2 separate regions of the Homo sapiens genome follow, and region 1 is linked to region 2. The links are contacts of gene promoters, found by promoter capture Hi-C in human tissues and cell types (Jung and others, 2019). All regions are on one chromosome and are shown on one strand. Each heading gives the region's core, a stretch centred on a gene start or on the middle of the fragment in contact. The rest is flanking DNA. Distances are from core to core; before and after follow the strand shown.

Region 1 (7,577 bases), core at 4,433-6,932, 610 kb after region 2:
AAAGTGATTCTGGCTGTGTGTACACAGGGGAATACTTCTGGAGGTGGGGATTATGTAATGAATGCTGTAGTGTGGGTTTCAGACCCCCACCCTCCTTTTGTACTGAGGGCACTAATTGCCCCAGGTGCCATGGCTGTTCGAGCCACCTTGTACAAGATTCCACCCTTTCCCAGGGGAGGGCCATGCCAGCTCCCAGCTCTGGGTGCAGCTACATCAGTGTTCAGTGCTTCGTCTGTCCAGCCCTGCCTGCCTTCCGCCTCCCAAGTGCTGTAATTGACAGTGCCCCCCAGCAAGCCTGTGTAAACTCTCAGTCTACTACTTGGAGAATCTGACCTATAAGAGATTACAAGGGAATTGTGTTTTTTTTTTCCTTATAAATTCTGTGTTGTCTTTTGTTTAAAATCAGGCCAAAAACTATCTTGAAAGAGAAGTACCTTTAAAAAATGTTGTTAGTTTTTTTAATTCATCGAGCAGAAATGATGCTCTTAAACGTCCGCCTGTAACATGATGTTTGCTGTTTGTATTGTAGTGTAAAGAACTGGCCAAGTCCAAAGCCGAAGTGGCCTGCATTGCAGTGTATGAAACAGACGTGTTTGTCGTCGGAACTGAAAGAGGACGTGCTTTTGTCAATACCAGAAAGGATTTTCAAAAAGATTTTGTAAAATATTGTAAGCATTGTATTTTTATCTTTTGCATTTCATTAATTTTAAGCCTAAATATTTGTAGGTAAGACAAGTTATATTATTTTCTTTCTTTCTTTCTTTCTTTTTTTTTTTTTTTGAGATGGAGTTTTGCTCATGTTGCCTAGGCTGGAGTGCAGTGGCACACTCTTGGCTCACCACAACCCCCGCTGCGTGAGTTCAAGTGATTCTCCTGCCTCAGCCTCCCAAGTAGCTGGGATTACAGGCACGCGCCAGCACGCCTGGCTAATTTTGTATTTTTAGTAGAGACGGGGTTTCTCCATGTTGGTCAGGCTGGTCTCAAACTCCCGACCTCAGGTGATCTGCCCACCTTGGCCTCCCAAAGTGCAGAGGGATTATAGGCGTGGGCCACTGCGCCTGGCCAAGTTATATTTTCTTCTAAAACAGAATGAGGTTTAAACTAAAAAAGATTTTCTGAAATGTTTATGGAGACATTTCAAAATGCTCAAAAGGAATCACTGAAATATGTCAGGATAGATACTGAAGAGTTAAGAAAAATGGTAGTGTTTGTTGTACGGTGTTCCTTGCTTGGCTTTACTCTGGGTTAATGAGATGCATTAGAGAGAAGGTAATGAAGGTAGAGAAATTTTGAATAGGTTAAAACTTTTACTCAGATAAGGAGTTATTTTCTTTTTCTTTTTTTTTTTTGAGACAGAGTTTCACTCTTGGCCCCCTGGGCTGGAGTGCAATGGCACGATCTCGGCTCATTGCAACCTCCACCTCCCATGTTCAAGCAATTCTTCTACCTCATCCTCCCGAGTAGCTGGGATTACAGGTGCCCACCACCATGCCTGGCTAATTTTTGTAATTTTAGTAAAGACAGGGTTTTGCCATGTTGGCCAAGTTGGTCTCAAACTCCTGACCTCAGGTGATCTGCTTGCCTTGGCCTCCCAAAGTGCTAGGATTTCAGGCATGAGCCACCACTCTCGGCTTTTTTTTTTTTTTTAAGAGATGGGGTCTCGCTCCGTCACCAGGCTGGAGTGCAGTGGCGCGATCTCCGCTCACTGCAACTTCCACCTCCTGTATTCAAGCAATTCTTCTACCTCAGCCTCTGGAGTAGCTGGGATTACAGGTGCACACCACCATACCTAGATAATTTTTTGTATTTTTAGTACAGACAGGGTTTCTCCATGTTGGCCAGGCTGGTCTTGAGCTCCTGACCCGAGGAGCCCACCTCGGCCTCCCAAAGTGCTGGGATTACAGGCGTGAGCCACCACATCCGGCCGGGAGTTCTTTTCTAGATAAAAAGTTGGTGTGTTGAAAACCAGTGATTCACTGTGCAAGTTTGTTTAAGCATATTGCAAAATTAAACAGTTCTCCTCCACTCCCTCACAGATACGAGTCACCTTATCACAGTCTTCAGTGAGTTTTGTAATCTGCATTTAGAGCAGTGGTGAGCTTATTTGACATTGGAACAGTGTTGAAATTTACTATAGGGTTTTAATACCCACAGCCTTTCACAGTATGACCATTTTCATATCTGTGTTTAACCTAACACTGTAGGTTTTATGTTAACTGATTGATACAGCATTTTCTTAAAAACATGGAAAGGGAACAAAAAAAGCTAGGGTATCTATAGGCACATATTATATATGGGCATACCTCATTTTTTGTTGTTGTCATTTTTGTTTTTTTGAGACGGAGTTTTGCTCTTGTTGCCCAGGCTAGAGTGCAATGGTGCGATCTCGGCTCACCGCAACCTCTGCCTCTTGGGTTCAAGTGATTCTCCTGCCTCAGCCTCCCGAGTAGCTGGGATTACAGGCATGCACCACCACACCCAGCTAGTTTTGTATTTTTAGTAGAGATGGGGTTTCTCCATGTTGGTCAGGCTGGTCTCGTACTCCTGACCTCAGGTTATCTGCCCGCCTCGGCCTCCCAAAGTGCTGGGATTACAGGCATGAGCCACTGTGCCCGACCGGGCATATCTCATTTTTTTTTTTTGTGCCTTGCAGACACTGCAGTTTTCACACATTGAAGATTTGTGGCAACCTTGTGTCAAGTCTATTGGTGCCATTTTTCCTGCAGCATGTGCTTACTTGGTTCTCTGTGTTGCATTTTGGTAACTCTTGGCATAGCATTATTTGAGACTTTTTCATGATTATTGTATCCGCTGTAGTGGAATTTTTTTTTTTTTTTTTTTTTTTTTTTTGAGATGGAGGTTTGCTCCGTCACCCTGGCTGGAGTGCAGTGGTGCGATCTCGGCTCACTGCATCCCCTGCCTCCTTGGTTCAAGGTATTGAGATCAGTGATCTTTGATGTTACTATTGTAATTGTACTGGGAGTCCTCGAACGCACACATATAATATGGCAAACCTAATAGGTAAATATGTGTTCTGACTGCTTCACCAATCGCCTGGTCCCCCATCATTCCCTTTCCTCAGGCCTCCCTGGTCCCTGAGACACAATATTGAAATTAGGCCGGCCAGGCACGGTGGCTCATGCCTGTCATCCTAGCACTTTGGGAGGCCGAGATGTGTGGACCACGAGGTCAAGAGATCGAGACCATCCTGGCCAACATGGTGAAACACCATCTCTACTAAAAATACAAAAAATTAGCTGGGTGTGGTGGCGCGTGCTTGTAGTCCCAGCTATTTGGGAGGCTGAGGCAGGTGAATTACTTGAACCTGGGAGGTGGAGGTTGCAGTGAGCCAAGATCGCACCACTGCACTCCAGCCTGGCGAAAGAGCAAGACTCCGTCTCAACGAAAAAAAAAGGAAATTAGGCCAATTAATAGACCTATAGTGGCCTCTGAGTGTTCAAGTGAAAGGAAGACTTGCAGGCTGCTCACTTTACATCAAAAGCAGAAATGATGAAGCTTAGTGAGGAAGGCATGTCAGCAGCTGAGGTAGGCTGAAAGCTAGGCTGAACAGGTAGCCAGGTGGAGAATGCGTAGGAAAAGTTCTCGAAGGAAATGAAAACTGCTGCTCCAGTGAACACGCAAATGATAAAGCAAAACAGCTTATTGCTGATAGGAAGAAAGTTTGAATGGTGTGGATAGAAGATCAAACCAGCCACAGCATTCCCTTAAGCCACAGCGTAATCCAGAGTGAGGCCCTAACTCTCTTCAATTCTGTGAAGGCTGAGATGGGTGAGGAAGCTGCAGAAGAAAAATTGGAAGCTAGCAGAGGTTGGCTCATGAGGTTTAAGGAAAGACACAGTCAGCTGGGGGCGGTGGCTCACGCCTGTAATCCCAGCACTTTGGGAGGCTGAGGTGGGCAGATCGTCTGAGCTCAGGAGTTCAAGACCACCCTAGGCACCCTGGTGAAACCCCGTCTCTTCTAAAATACAAAAAATTAGCCAGGCCTGGTGGCGTGCACCTGTAGTCCCAGCTGCTCTGGAGGCTGAGGTACGAGAATCGCTTGAGCCCAGGAGGCGGAGGTTGCAGTGAGCTGAGATCTCGCCATTGCACTCCAGCCTGGACTCTTGAGATCTGTCTCAAAAGAAAAAAAAAGGAAAGACAGAGTCTCTATAACATAAAAGTGCAAGGTAAAGCAGCAAGTGTTTGATGTAGAAACTGCAGCAAGTTCTTTAGAAGATCTAGCTGAGGTAATTCATGAAGATGGCTACACTCACAAAACCCGATTTTCAACGTAGACAAAACAGCCTTATATTGGAAGATACTCTCTAGGACTTTGCTAGCTAGAGAGAAGTTCATTCCTGGCTTCAAAGCTTCAAAGGACAAGCTGAATTCCTTGTGAGGGGTTAACGCCGCTGGTTACTTTGAAGCCATGTTCATTTACCATTCTGAAAATCCTGGGGTCCTGAAGAGTTACACTAAATCTGCTCTGCCTGTGCTCTATTGATAGAACAATAAAGCCTGGATGACAGCACATCTCTTGATAGTGTTGTTCACCGAATATTTTAAGCCCACTTTTGAGACCTACTGCTCAGAAAAAAAGATTGCTTTCAAAATATGACTGCTCACAGTCACTCACAGAGTCCTGATGGAGGTGTATAAGGAGATGCTTGCCATTTTATTTTTATTTTTTATTTAGTTTTTTTTGAGACAGAGTTTTGCTCTTGTTGCCCATGCTGGAGTGCAATGGCGCGATCTCAGCTCACTGCAACCTCCATGAACACTGTTGAAATGATAACAAAGGATTTAGAGTATGACATAAACTTAGTTCATAAAGCAATGGCAGGGTTTTGGAGGATTGACTCCAATTTTGAAACAAGTTCTACCGTGGGTGAAATGCTACCAAATAGCCTCACACTACAGAGAGACCTTTCATGAAAGCAAGAGTCAATGTAACTTTTATATGCATTGGGAAACCAAAACATCTGTGTGACTTTACTTTATACTTGTATTATTGTGGTGATTTGGAAATGAACCTGCAGATGCTTGTATGCCACTAAGGTCTAAAGTTAAACTTCTGATGTCAGTTTAGATTAAATTGGTGATACATTCAGCAACTTATTAGTGAACAAAAAGTTTTGTTAATTCACGAATTTTAATTCCCAATTGTATTTTTAGTTTGTTTTAAAAACTATCCCCTGCCACTGTATTCCTCCCCCTGTCCCTTACCCCCATGCTGTAATCTTCTAAGCTTTATGTTAGTAACTTATTTTTAAAATGTTGACATTATTATAATGTTGAGAAATGTTCAAGCATTGATTATGTTTCTGTGTTTCTTTATACTAATAATGCTGTTTTGATTGTGTGTGTATCAGCTGCTGTCTGCCCCACCAATACCATAAGCCCGCCTGCAGCTGTACTTATTCTCCCCTTCCCTGTCCTGCCTGGCTTATGTGGTTCTCCACTGGTTAGAACTAAGCATTAAGGGCGCTGTCCTCAGCTGCAAGCTGTAGTCACTGTCCATCAGTATTCATACTTTGTTTTTATTGCTAATAATTTTTTTTTTTTTTTTAAGGAGTCTCGCCCTGTCACCCAGGCTGGAGTGCAGTGGCGTGATCTTGGCTCACTGCAACCTCAGCCTCCCAGGTTCAAGCGATTCTTCTGTCTCAGCCTCCCGAGTAGCTGGGATTACAGGCACACCTGGCTAATTTTTGTATTTTTAGTAGAGATGGGGTTTTGCCCTGTTGGCCTGGCTGGTCTCGAACTCCTTACCTCAAGTGATCCACCCACCTTGGCCTCCCAAAGTGCTAGGATTACCGGCGTGAGCCACCGTGACTGGCCTCATTGTTAATAATTTGATCCATGGAGAATGGTTTCTGTATCTAATTCTCCTTCTTCTCTTTTTTTTTGAGACAGAGTCTCACTATCGCCCATGGAGTGCAGTGGTGCGATCTTGGCTCACTGCAACTTCTGCCTCCCAGGTTCAAGCAAGTCTCCTGCCTCAGCCTTTCTAGTAGCTGGGATTACAGGCGTGTGTCACTACACTCGGCTAATTTTTTTTTTTTTTTTCGAGACGGAGTCTCGCTCTGTCGCCCAGGCTAGAGTGCAGTGGCACGATCTCAGCTCACTGCAAGCTTCACCTCCCGGGTTCACGCCATTCTTCTGCCTCCGCCTCCCAAGTAGCTGGGACTACAGGCGCCCACCACCATGCCTGGCTAATTTTTTGTATTTTTTAGTAGAGGTGGGGTTTCACCATGTTGGCCAGACTGATCTTAAACTCCTGACCTCAGGCGATCTGCCCTCCTTGGCCTCCCAAAGTGCTGGGATTACAGGCATGAGCCACTGCACCCGGCCTAATTCTCAAGTACCTCTTACTTGTTTGTGTAAAGTACTTTGCAGATAAGGAGCAATAATGGTCTTCTGGAAGGTAATCAATAGGTTTATGAGGCAATCATAGAAATTCTTCAGGAGAATTCTGAGCGCTTTTCTGGGATTTAGAAAAGCGTTGTTCAGCAGAAAAAAGTATCATGTGAGTCTCTCACATAATTTAAAACTTTCTAGTTAGAACATTAAAGAAAAATAAAGAAAAACAAGTGAAATTCATTTTACTGGTAATACTTTAACTTATTATATCTAAAATATTTCAACATGTAATCAATTTAAAAATTATTAATGGGCCGGGTGTGGTGGCTCATGCCTGTAATCCCAGCACTTTGGGAGGCAGAGGCAGGCGGATCACGAGGTCAGGAGATCGAGACCATGTGGCCAACATGGTGAAACCCTGTCTCTACTAAAAATACAAAAATTAGCTGGGAGTGGTGGCGCGCACCTGTAATCCCAGCTACTCGGGAGGCTGAGGCAGAAGAATCGTTTGAACCTGGGAGGTGGAGATTGCAGTGAGCCACGATCGTGCCACTGCACTCCAGCCTGGTGACAGAGCAAGACTCCGTCTCCAGAAAAAAAAAATTATTAATGGGATATTTGTCATACTTTTTTTGTACCAAGTCTTCAAAATCCAGTGTGTATTGTACACTCATGAAACATCTGAATTTGGACCAGCCAAGTTGCAAGTGCCACATGTATCTATTTGTTATCGTGCTAGACTTTGCAAGCCTAGAATTTTTTTGTGTCGATAATCTTCTCATATTTAAATTTGTAACCAATACAAATTTTCTTTTTTAAAGTAGTACAAGGGTACTGGTATGTAGTATTTTTAGCTATAGCTACACTTATTTCAGAGATGGTCACCATTTCATATTACTTTCATTCATCTAAGTATTTTAGATTTTTATTTGAAAAGTTCCCTTTTAAATCTCCATCTCCCTGCCTTTTATTTTTTATTTTTTTGAGACGGAGTCTTGCTCTGTCGCCAGGCTGGAGTGCAGTGGTGCAATCTTGGCTCACTGCACCCTCCACCTCCCGGGTTCAAGCAATTCTCCTGCCTCAGCCTCCCAAGTAGCTGAGACTACAGGTGTGTGCCACCATGCCCAGCTAATTTTTGTATTTTTTGTTTGTTTGTTTGTTTGTTTGTTTGAGACGGAGTCTCACTCTGTCGCCCAGGCTGGAGTGCAGTGGCGCAA
Region 2 (7,274 bases), core at 4,222-6,721:
AGGCAGAAGTTGGAGTGAGCCGAGATTGCACCATTGCTCTCCAGCCTGGGCGACAGAGCAAGACTTGGTCTCAAGCAATCCTCCTGCCTCAGCCTCCCAAGTAGCTAGGACTACAGTCACGTGCCACCATACCTGGCTAATTTTTTTTTTTTTTAGAGATGAGGTCTCGCTATGTTGCCCAGGCTGGTTTCAAATTTCTGGCCTCAAGGGATCCTCCTGCCTTGGCCTCTCAAATGGCTGGGATTACAGGTGTGAGCTACCATGACTGACCATCATGATTTTAACAAAACTGACAGGAGAATAAAAATAAGGGCAAAGTAGTAGCCAGAGGCTAGGTCCCATAAGCGCAGAAGCAGGGACCTTAGGGTTAGAAAGCAAAGGAATGTCACACATGTTCAGAGGCTCTGCAGGATGACAGGGCATAGGGACATGACTTGGGAGGCTGTTGCTCTAAATACCTAACTAGGCCAAGAAGGAGGGAGAAGTGCTGGAATTCTGGATGTATTTTACATATAGAGCCAATAGGATTTGCCAATGGATCAGAGGCAGGGAGTCAAGAGAGGGAATGGGAGCAGTCATGCCATATAGTACACCTGTAGTTCCAGCAGCTAGGGAGGCTGAGATGGGAGGATCGCTTGAGCCTGGGAGGTCAAGGCTGCAGTGAGCTTTGATCGTGCCACTGCCCACCAGCCTGGGTGATAGAGGAAGATCTTGTCTCAAAAAAAAAAAATGTCTGTGAGTTTAAACTAAATTACTGGATGATGGTGGTGTCATTTACTGAGATAAGAAACACCTGGGGAGGAACTATCCGGGCACAAATTATGAGCTCTGACCTGGACACATTAAGTATGAGGTCCCATTTGCCATCCAAGTGGAGATCCCAAATAGACATTCGGGTTCTTGTGTCTGCAGTTCGAGGAGAGGTCAGAGGAGTCACCAAGCCATGCATCTGAGTGAGCTCACGCAGAGTGGGCGAGATGTGAGCAGGCAGGGTCTGACAGCAGGGATCCCATGACGCCAGCCTGCTTTGCATGCTAGGACAGCTCAGGCTCTGGCCCTGCCTTCAACAACAGCCTTGGGCTCACGTTACAGCAGCATCCCCAAGGAGCCTCCTGCTTGTCACTGGCTTGTGTCCAGCCAGGCACAAATTTGCAACTGGGCAATTCTAACCTCTAGAGTGAGTAAGCCATTCCCATGGGGCGCTCAACTCCTCATAGAAAAAACTTTTATTGGCCGGGAGTGGTGACTCACACTGTAATCCCAGCACTTTAAGAGGCCGAGGTGGGATGATCACTTGAGGTCAGGAGTTCAAGACCAGCCTGGCCAACATGGTGAAACCCTATCTCTACTAAAAATACAAAAATTAGCCAGGCGTGGTGGCAGGCACCTGTAATCCCAGCTACTCGGGAGGCTGAGGCAGGAGAATCACTTGAATCCAGGAGGCAGAGGTTGCAGTGAGCCGAGTTAGCGCCACTGCAGTCCAGCTTGGGCAACAGGGCGAGACTCCATCTCAAAAAAACAAAAACAAAACAAAAAACTTTTATCAGGCCGGACTCAGTGGCTCATGCCTATAATCCCAGCACTTTGGGAACACAAAGTGGAAAGGATCAATTGAGCACAGGAGTTCGAGACTAGCCTGGGCAACATGGTAAGACCCCCCCCCATCTCTACAAAAGATAAAAATTAGCCAGACGTGGCGTGTGTGCCTGTGGGTCCACCTACCTAGAAGTCTGAGGTGGGAGGATCACTTGAGCTCAGGAGTTTGAGGCTGCAGTGAGCTACGATCGTGCCACTGCATTCCACCCTGTGTGACAGAGTGAGACCCTGTCTCTCTTAAAAAAAAAAAAAAAAAAAAGTCCAAAAATCCTTTTTGCAGCCAGGCGAGATGGCTCACATCTATAATCCCAGCACTTTGGGAGGCCTAGGTGGGCGAATCGCCTGAGGTCAGGAGTTCGAGACCAGTCTGGCCAACCTGGTGAAACCCCATCTCTACTAAAAATACAAAAAATTAGCCAGGCATGGTGGTGCACACCTGTAATCCCAGCTACTTGGGAGGCTGAGGCAGGAGAATTGCTTGAACCCAGGAGGTGGAGATTGCAATGAGCTGGGATCGTGCCACTGCACTCCAGCCTGGGAAAGAAGAGCAAACCTCCATCTCAAAATAAATAAATAAATAAATAAATATAAATAAAAAGCAAAAATCCTTTTTGCTTTCAGCAAAAAAAATCTTGCATGAGCAATGTAACTGAATATGTCAGATCTGATGTTTCACCTGGAACTGTGGCTGACAAGGAGCTCCTACAAGGTGTGGAAGTGCCAGCTCCATCTTTTCGCTCATCTGGGTGTGTTAGCATCTTCTTTTTTTTTTTTTTTGTTTATTTGTTTGAGACAGGCTGTACAATGGCATGATCAGAGCTCACTAGAGCCTCCAAATCCTGGACTCAAGCGATCCTCCCGTCTCAGCCTCCTGAGTAGCTGTGACTACAGGTGCACACCACCACTCCCAGATAATTTTTTTTTTTCCGAAGAGATGTGAGGGGGTCTCACTATGTTGCCCAGGCTGGTCTTGAACTCCTGACCTCAAGCGATCCTCCCAGTTCAGCCTCCCAAAGTGCTGGGATTACAGGTATAAGCCACTGCACCCAGTCTGCATCATCTTCAATCTGTGCTTTCTTTTTTTTTTTTTGAGATGGAGTCTTGCTCTGTCACCAGGCTGGGGTGCAGTGGCGCAATCTCGGCTCACCGCAACCTCCAACTCCCTGGTTCAAGCGATTTTCCTGCCTCAGCCTCCCAAGTAGCTGGGATTGCAGGCACGTACCACCATGCCCAGCTAATTTTTGTATTTTTAGTAGAGACGGGGTTTCACCATGTTGGCCAGGATGGTCTCGATCTCCTGACCTCACGATCCACCCGCCTCAGCCTCTCAAAGTGCTGGGATTACAGGTGTGAGCCACCACGCCAGGCCCAATCTGTGCTTTCTTTGCAGGAATTGTTTTCAACTATGAGTCCATTCTGTGAGGGTTAATTTAGTCAAAACTGGATAACATCACTCAACCAAGCTGGCTCAGGCTCACAGCCCCTCCAGGCCACTATGCACTTCTCTGCCCTGCACTGTGGGCACAGCATCAACATGGCCCTGCCCGCTGCATCCAGACGGGATTGGTTAACGGGAGGCAATGGAAGAATAAGAAGAGCAGGGGAGTCAGATCAGAATAGCCCTTCTGGGCCCTCTTCCCCATGAGTCCCCCAGAACTGGGGACCCCTCTTGCACAGCTCCTCTCAGGCAGGCCTCTCCTCCAGGGACCCCCTCTATGCCCCCTTACCCTGGGCTGGTAACTGCTGCCACCCCTCCAACTGTGCCAGTCCTTACTGATCTCCTTTAATCCCCCCTCCCCAGTGCATTGCAAACATCCCCTTTATCAAACTCTCCCCAGTTAGCCCCACTAAGTGGCACTTTCTGTTTCCAGCCAGGGTCCTGCCTGGTATATGCCCTACAGCCAAGTTACAAGGCTCTCATTCCCCTCTCTTTCCTTCCCCTTTTTTTCCCTCCCTATCTTTTTTGACAGGGTCTCTGTCACCCAGGCTAGAGTGCAATGGTGCAATCATAGCTCACTGCAGCCTCAACCTCCTGAGGTCAAGTATCCTCCCACCTCAGCCTCCCAAGTAACTAACTACAGGCATGAGCCACCATGCCTGGCTAATTAAAAAAAAAAAAAAAAGTCTGGGCGCGGTGGCTCACGCCTGTAATCCCAGCACTTTGGGAGGCCAAGGTGGGTGGATCACCTGAGGTCCAGAATTCGAGACCAGCCTGACCAACATGGAGAAACCCCGTCTCTATTAAAAATACAAAATTAGCCAGGTATGGTGGTGCATGCCTATAATCCCAGCTATTCCAGAGGCTGAGGCAGGAGAATGGCTTGAACCCGGGAGGTGGAGGTTGCTGTGAGCTGAGATCGCACCATTGCACTCCAGCCTGGGCAACAAGAGTGAAACTCCATTTCAAAAAAAAAAAAAGTTAGAAGAGACAGGGTTTCACTTCATTGCTTAAGCTGATCTCCAATTCCTGGCCCCACGTGATGCTCCCACCTTGGCCTCCCAAAGTGCTGGGATTATAGGTGTGAGCCACTGTGCCCAGCCTTCTTTCTCATGAGAAATTAAAAATTCTGGCCAGGCGTGGTGGCTCACACCTGTAATCCCAGCACTTTGGGAAGCCGAGGAGGGTGGATCACCTGAGGTCAGGAGTTCAGGACCAGCCTGGTCAACATGGTGAAACCTCATCTCTACTAAAAATACAAAAATTAGTCGGTCATGGTGGTGCACGCCTGTAATATCAGCTACTCGGGAGGCTAAGGTGGGAGAATTGCTTGAACCTGGGAGGTGGAGACTGCGGTGAGCCGAGATCCCGCCACTGCACTCCAGCCTAGGCAACAGAGCGAGACCGAATCTAAAAAAAGAAAAAAAAAATCTAGTATTTTCTTCCCACCCCACGTAATTGTTTTGCACCCAGGGGTGAGTGCCCCCCACTTTGCAGACGTGCCTAGACCTCTCCCCACAAACATGATGACTAGAGTTGGAGCTGGGCTAGCGCTGCCTCTTGTTCACTGGGTTCACGTGGGCACGTGGCTCCACTCCGGTCACTGCTTCCTGGGCAGAGGGATGACGTGGAAGGTAGACCTAGGGGGGACAGGGTTGCTTCCTGCCCATGTCCAGCATTCTAGAATTGTCCACATCTAGGCAGGGCGTTCCACCATCAGTGCTGGACTGGACCACCCAATTCCTTTGGACGCTTGACTCAGCCCAAACCCGTGCTCCCTCCAGGACCCTGGGCAGGGCAGCCCCAGCTCCAGGTAATCGGCACTGAGAAGAGTACACCTGTCACCGCCTGGCAGGGGCTCGCTCCTTTCTCTGGTGCTGCTCATTCGCGAGGCCTGAGACGCGGACCGTCACCTTCCCCGGGCCCAGCCTGGCCTCAATGCAGGCCTCAGAGAGAGGGACAAAACCCGGCCCGCCTCCCTCCCCTCCCCAAGGCGACCACCAGTGTCCTGGGGGTCCACAGGGCCTCTCCAGCTCTGATCCGAGTTCCCGGCTGCAGCTGGTTTGGGTCTGTGGGGGCCTCGCGCAGGGAAGCGGAGGCCCCTTCTCTAGGCTCCTACATCCTCCTGGCCTGCCCCAGCAGAGCTAGCGGCCCTCCGAGACAGCTGGGCCTCGCAGCTCCCAGCCGAGGCCTGTCGCTGGGAGAAAGAAGAATGAATGAAGGGCGGAAGGGGCGGGGAGGGGCGGGGCGCGCCGCGCCAGCTCGCGGCGCCCCCAGGCCGGGCCGCAGCGGGGCGTGGCCTCTAGAGGCGTGGCCTTGGGCGTGGGGGCGGGGTTTTCTGGTGGGGGCGGGGCCGCGCAGGGCCGTTCCCGCCGCCGGCCGCCCGCGCCCCGCCCCCGTGCCGCAGCTCACAGGCCCCGCCTCGGTCCGCCCCTCCGCTCGCTCCCCAAGCCGCCGCGGCGCCGAGCCGGTTTCCCCGCCGGTGTCCGAGAGGCGCCCCCGGCCCGGCCCGGCCCGGCCCGCGCCCTCCGCCCCCGCCTCCCCGGGCCGGCGGCGGTGGGCGAGCTCGCGGGCCCGGCCGCCCCCAGCCCCAGCCCCGCCGGGCCCCGCCCCCCGTCGAGTGCATGAGGTTGACGCTACTTTGTTGCACCTGGAGGGAAGAACGTATGGGAGAGGAAGGTGCGCGGGCCGCGGGGTGTGGGGCGAGGGCCTGGAGGGGGTGCCCGGGGCAGCGTGGGGCACGGGAGGGGGCCGGGTCTGCCAGGAGGCCGCGCCCCTGCCTCCTCCGGGATGAGCTCGTCCTTACGAAGCCCGCAGGCCCCTCCCTGTCCCCCTCCCGCCCGGGATCCCCCTCCCCGGCCCCCGGCGAGCTGCCCTCCTGCGGGTCTGGGGGCCCCTGGACCCTTTTTCCTCCTCCCACGTCCCCCCGCGAAGGACTCCCAGACACTGCCCACCCCGCGTCGGCCTCCATCCGCGTGCTCTGTCCACCACCCGGGCCTCGCCCTGGGGCCACCCTTTATCCAGTCTCGGAAGAAAGAGCGGCTGGGGAAGCCGCAGCCCCGGGTCCCAGTGGCCGCCGGGCGCCTGCCCGGCTCTGTGACCTTGAGCCAGGCGCTGACTTCCTGGTCCTCAGTTTCCCCTTCTGTACATTTGGAAACTGGGTAGTTGCCCCCCCGGTGTCGGTGATTGGGGGCCAGATGGGTAGAGCGGAGATAGGCGTCCAGGAAGCCGGAGGCCGTGTACTGCGGGAGCCTCATCCACTCTCCCTGTCCGTGCCCCAAACCCGGTGCCTGCCCTCAGTCTTGGCTGGGAGCATGACTCATCCTAACCTCCTCTTTAGCCCCTTCTCCCTCACTGGGGCCCAAGGCGCAGTACTGCACTGCAGTTAGGGTTCAAGGACTCCCCCAGCCTAGGACAGGGTCTGGGGGCCCCTCCTTGGATCTCCTTCGCTGACCTGTCACTTAGATCCACCTGGCCCCAAGGCAGGGCCTGACTCCACACCTCCCCCTGCCACCAACTCTTCCCAGGCCCATGAAAACCTGATTGGGGTAGGGGCCCACCTTCCTGTAGCCCCTGCCTACCTAAGGTACCTGCGTCTTCACAGAGGGTCAGGCTGTTGTGGCCTTGGGACCTAGCTATGTGACTGGGCAAGCCATGCCATCTCTGGGGCTCAGTCTCCCCTTCTGTACAGTGGAGAGGGGCAGGTCTGGGGCATTTTCCAGGGCCCACCAGCTCCAAGGGTGCCAGGCCCCAAGGATGACTAAGCATGCCTGTGGCTGGCTAGAGGAGGTGCCAGGCCTCCCTGGGACAGGTGTCTGGGAGTACCCAGGTCTGCAGCCCCCTCCCCTTGCCAAGCCAGGGCATTCATTGCCAAGGATCTGTTAGGGCCGGCACCTCCAGGCTTCCTGCCCTTGACCTCCCAGCTGGCTTCAGCCCAGGATGCACTAATCCAGCCCTGTCCAGTCCCTGCCTTTGAAGGGCCCTCTTAGTACTTCTTCCTGGGCAGGAGAGGGAAGAAAGGAGGCTGTGATAGGAATGTCACCCACTGCCTTATCCCTAAAGCCACTGCTTCCTTTCTCCTCATTTACCTTGCCAGATCCAATGCTATAGCGGGAGGATGGACCTGATCCTCCTCCTAAGCTGATACATAGGGAAACAGGGCCAGAGAAGCTTGGCAACCTAGTCAGTATCTCAGCAAGACTCAGGCCAGCGCCCTTTCTTCTCCTATTTGGCACAGCGA

What was found. Contacts are between HindIII fragments. The study calls those that stand out against the background at their distance.
Region 1: a fragment that was not itself captured here is called in contact with the fragment with the promoter of LIMK1 in region 2 in 2 of the 25 tissues and cell types used here (dorsolateral prefrontal cortex and spleen).

Annotation. Positions count from the first base shown.
Region 1 is chr7:74,690,444-74,698,020 of GRCh38, forward strand. It overlaps GTF2I (general transcription factor IIi), which reads left to right. Exons shown (of 35, transcript NM_032999.4): 3 at 530-668. All of the region lies in intron 3 of GTF2I-AS1 (GTF2I antisense RNA 1), which reads right to left. Among named protein-coding and RNA genes, the nearest start is that of GTF2I-AS1, 35 kb to the right of the region's middle. The HindIII fragment of the contact is 3,479 bases long and covers 3,944-7,422 here.
Region 2 is chr7:74,078,333-74,085,606 of GRCh38, forward strand. It overlaps LIMK1 (LIM domain kinase 1), which reads left to right and starts at 5,472. Exons shown (of 16, transcript NM_002314.4): 1 at 5,472-5,713. The coding sequence starts at 5,659. RefSeq lists enhancers at 4,172-4,850, 4,846-4,955, 4,851-5,529, 6,016-6,285, 6,797-7,274 and silencers at 5,226-5,495, 5,616-5,665, 5,776-5,825. The HindIII fragment of the contact is 14,309 bases long and covers 1-7,274 here.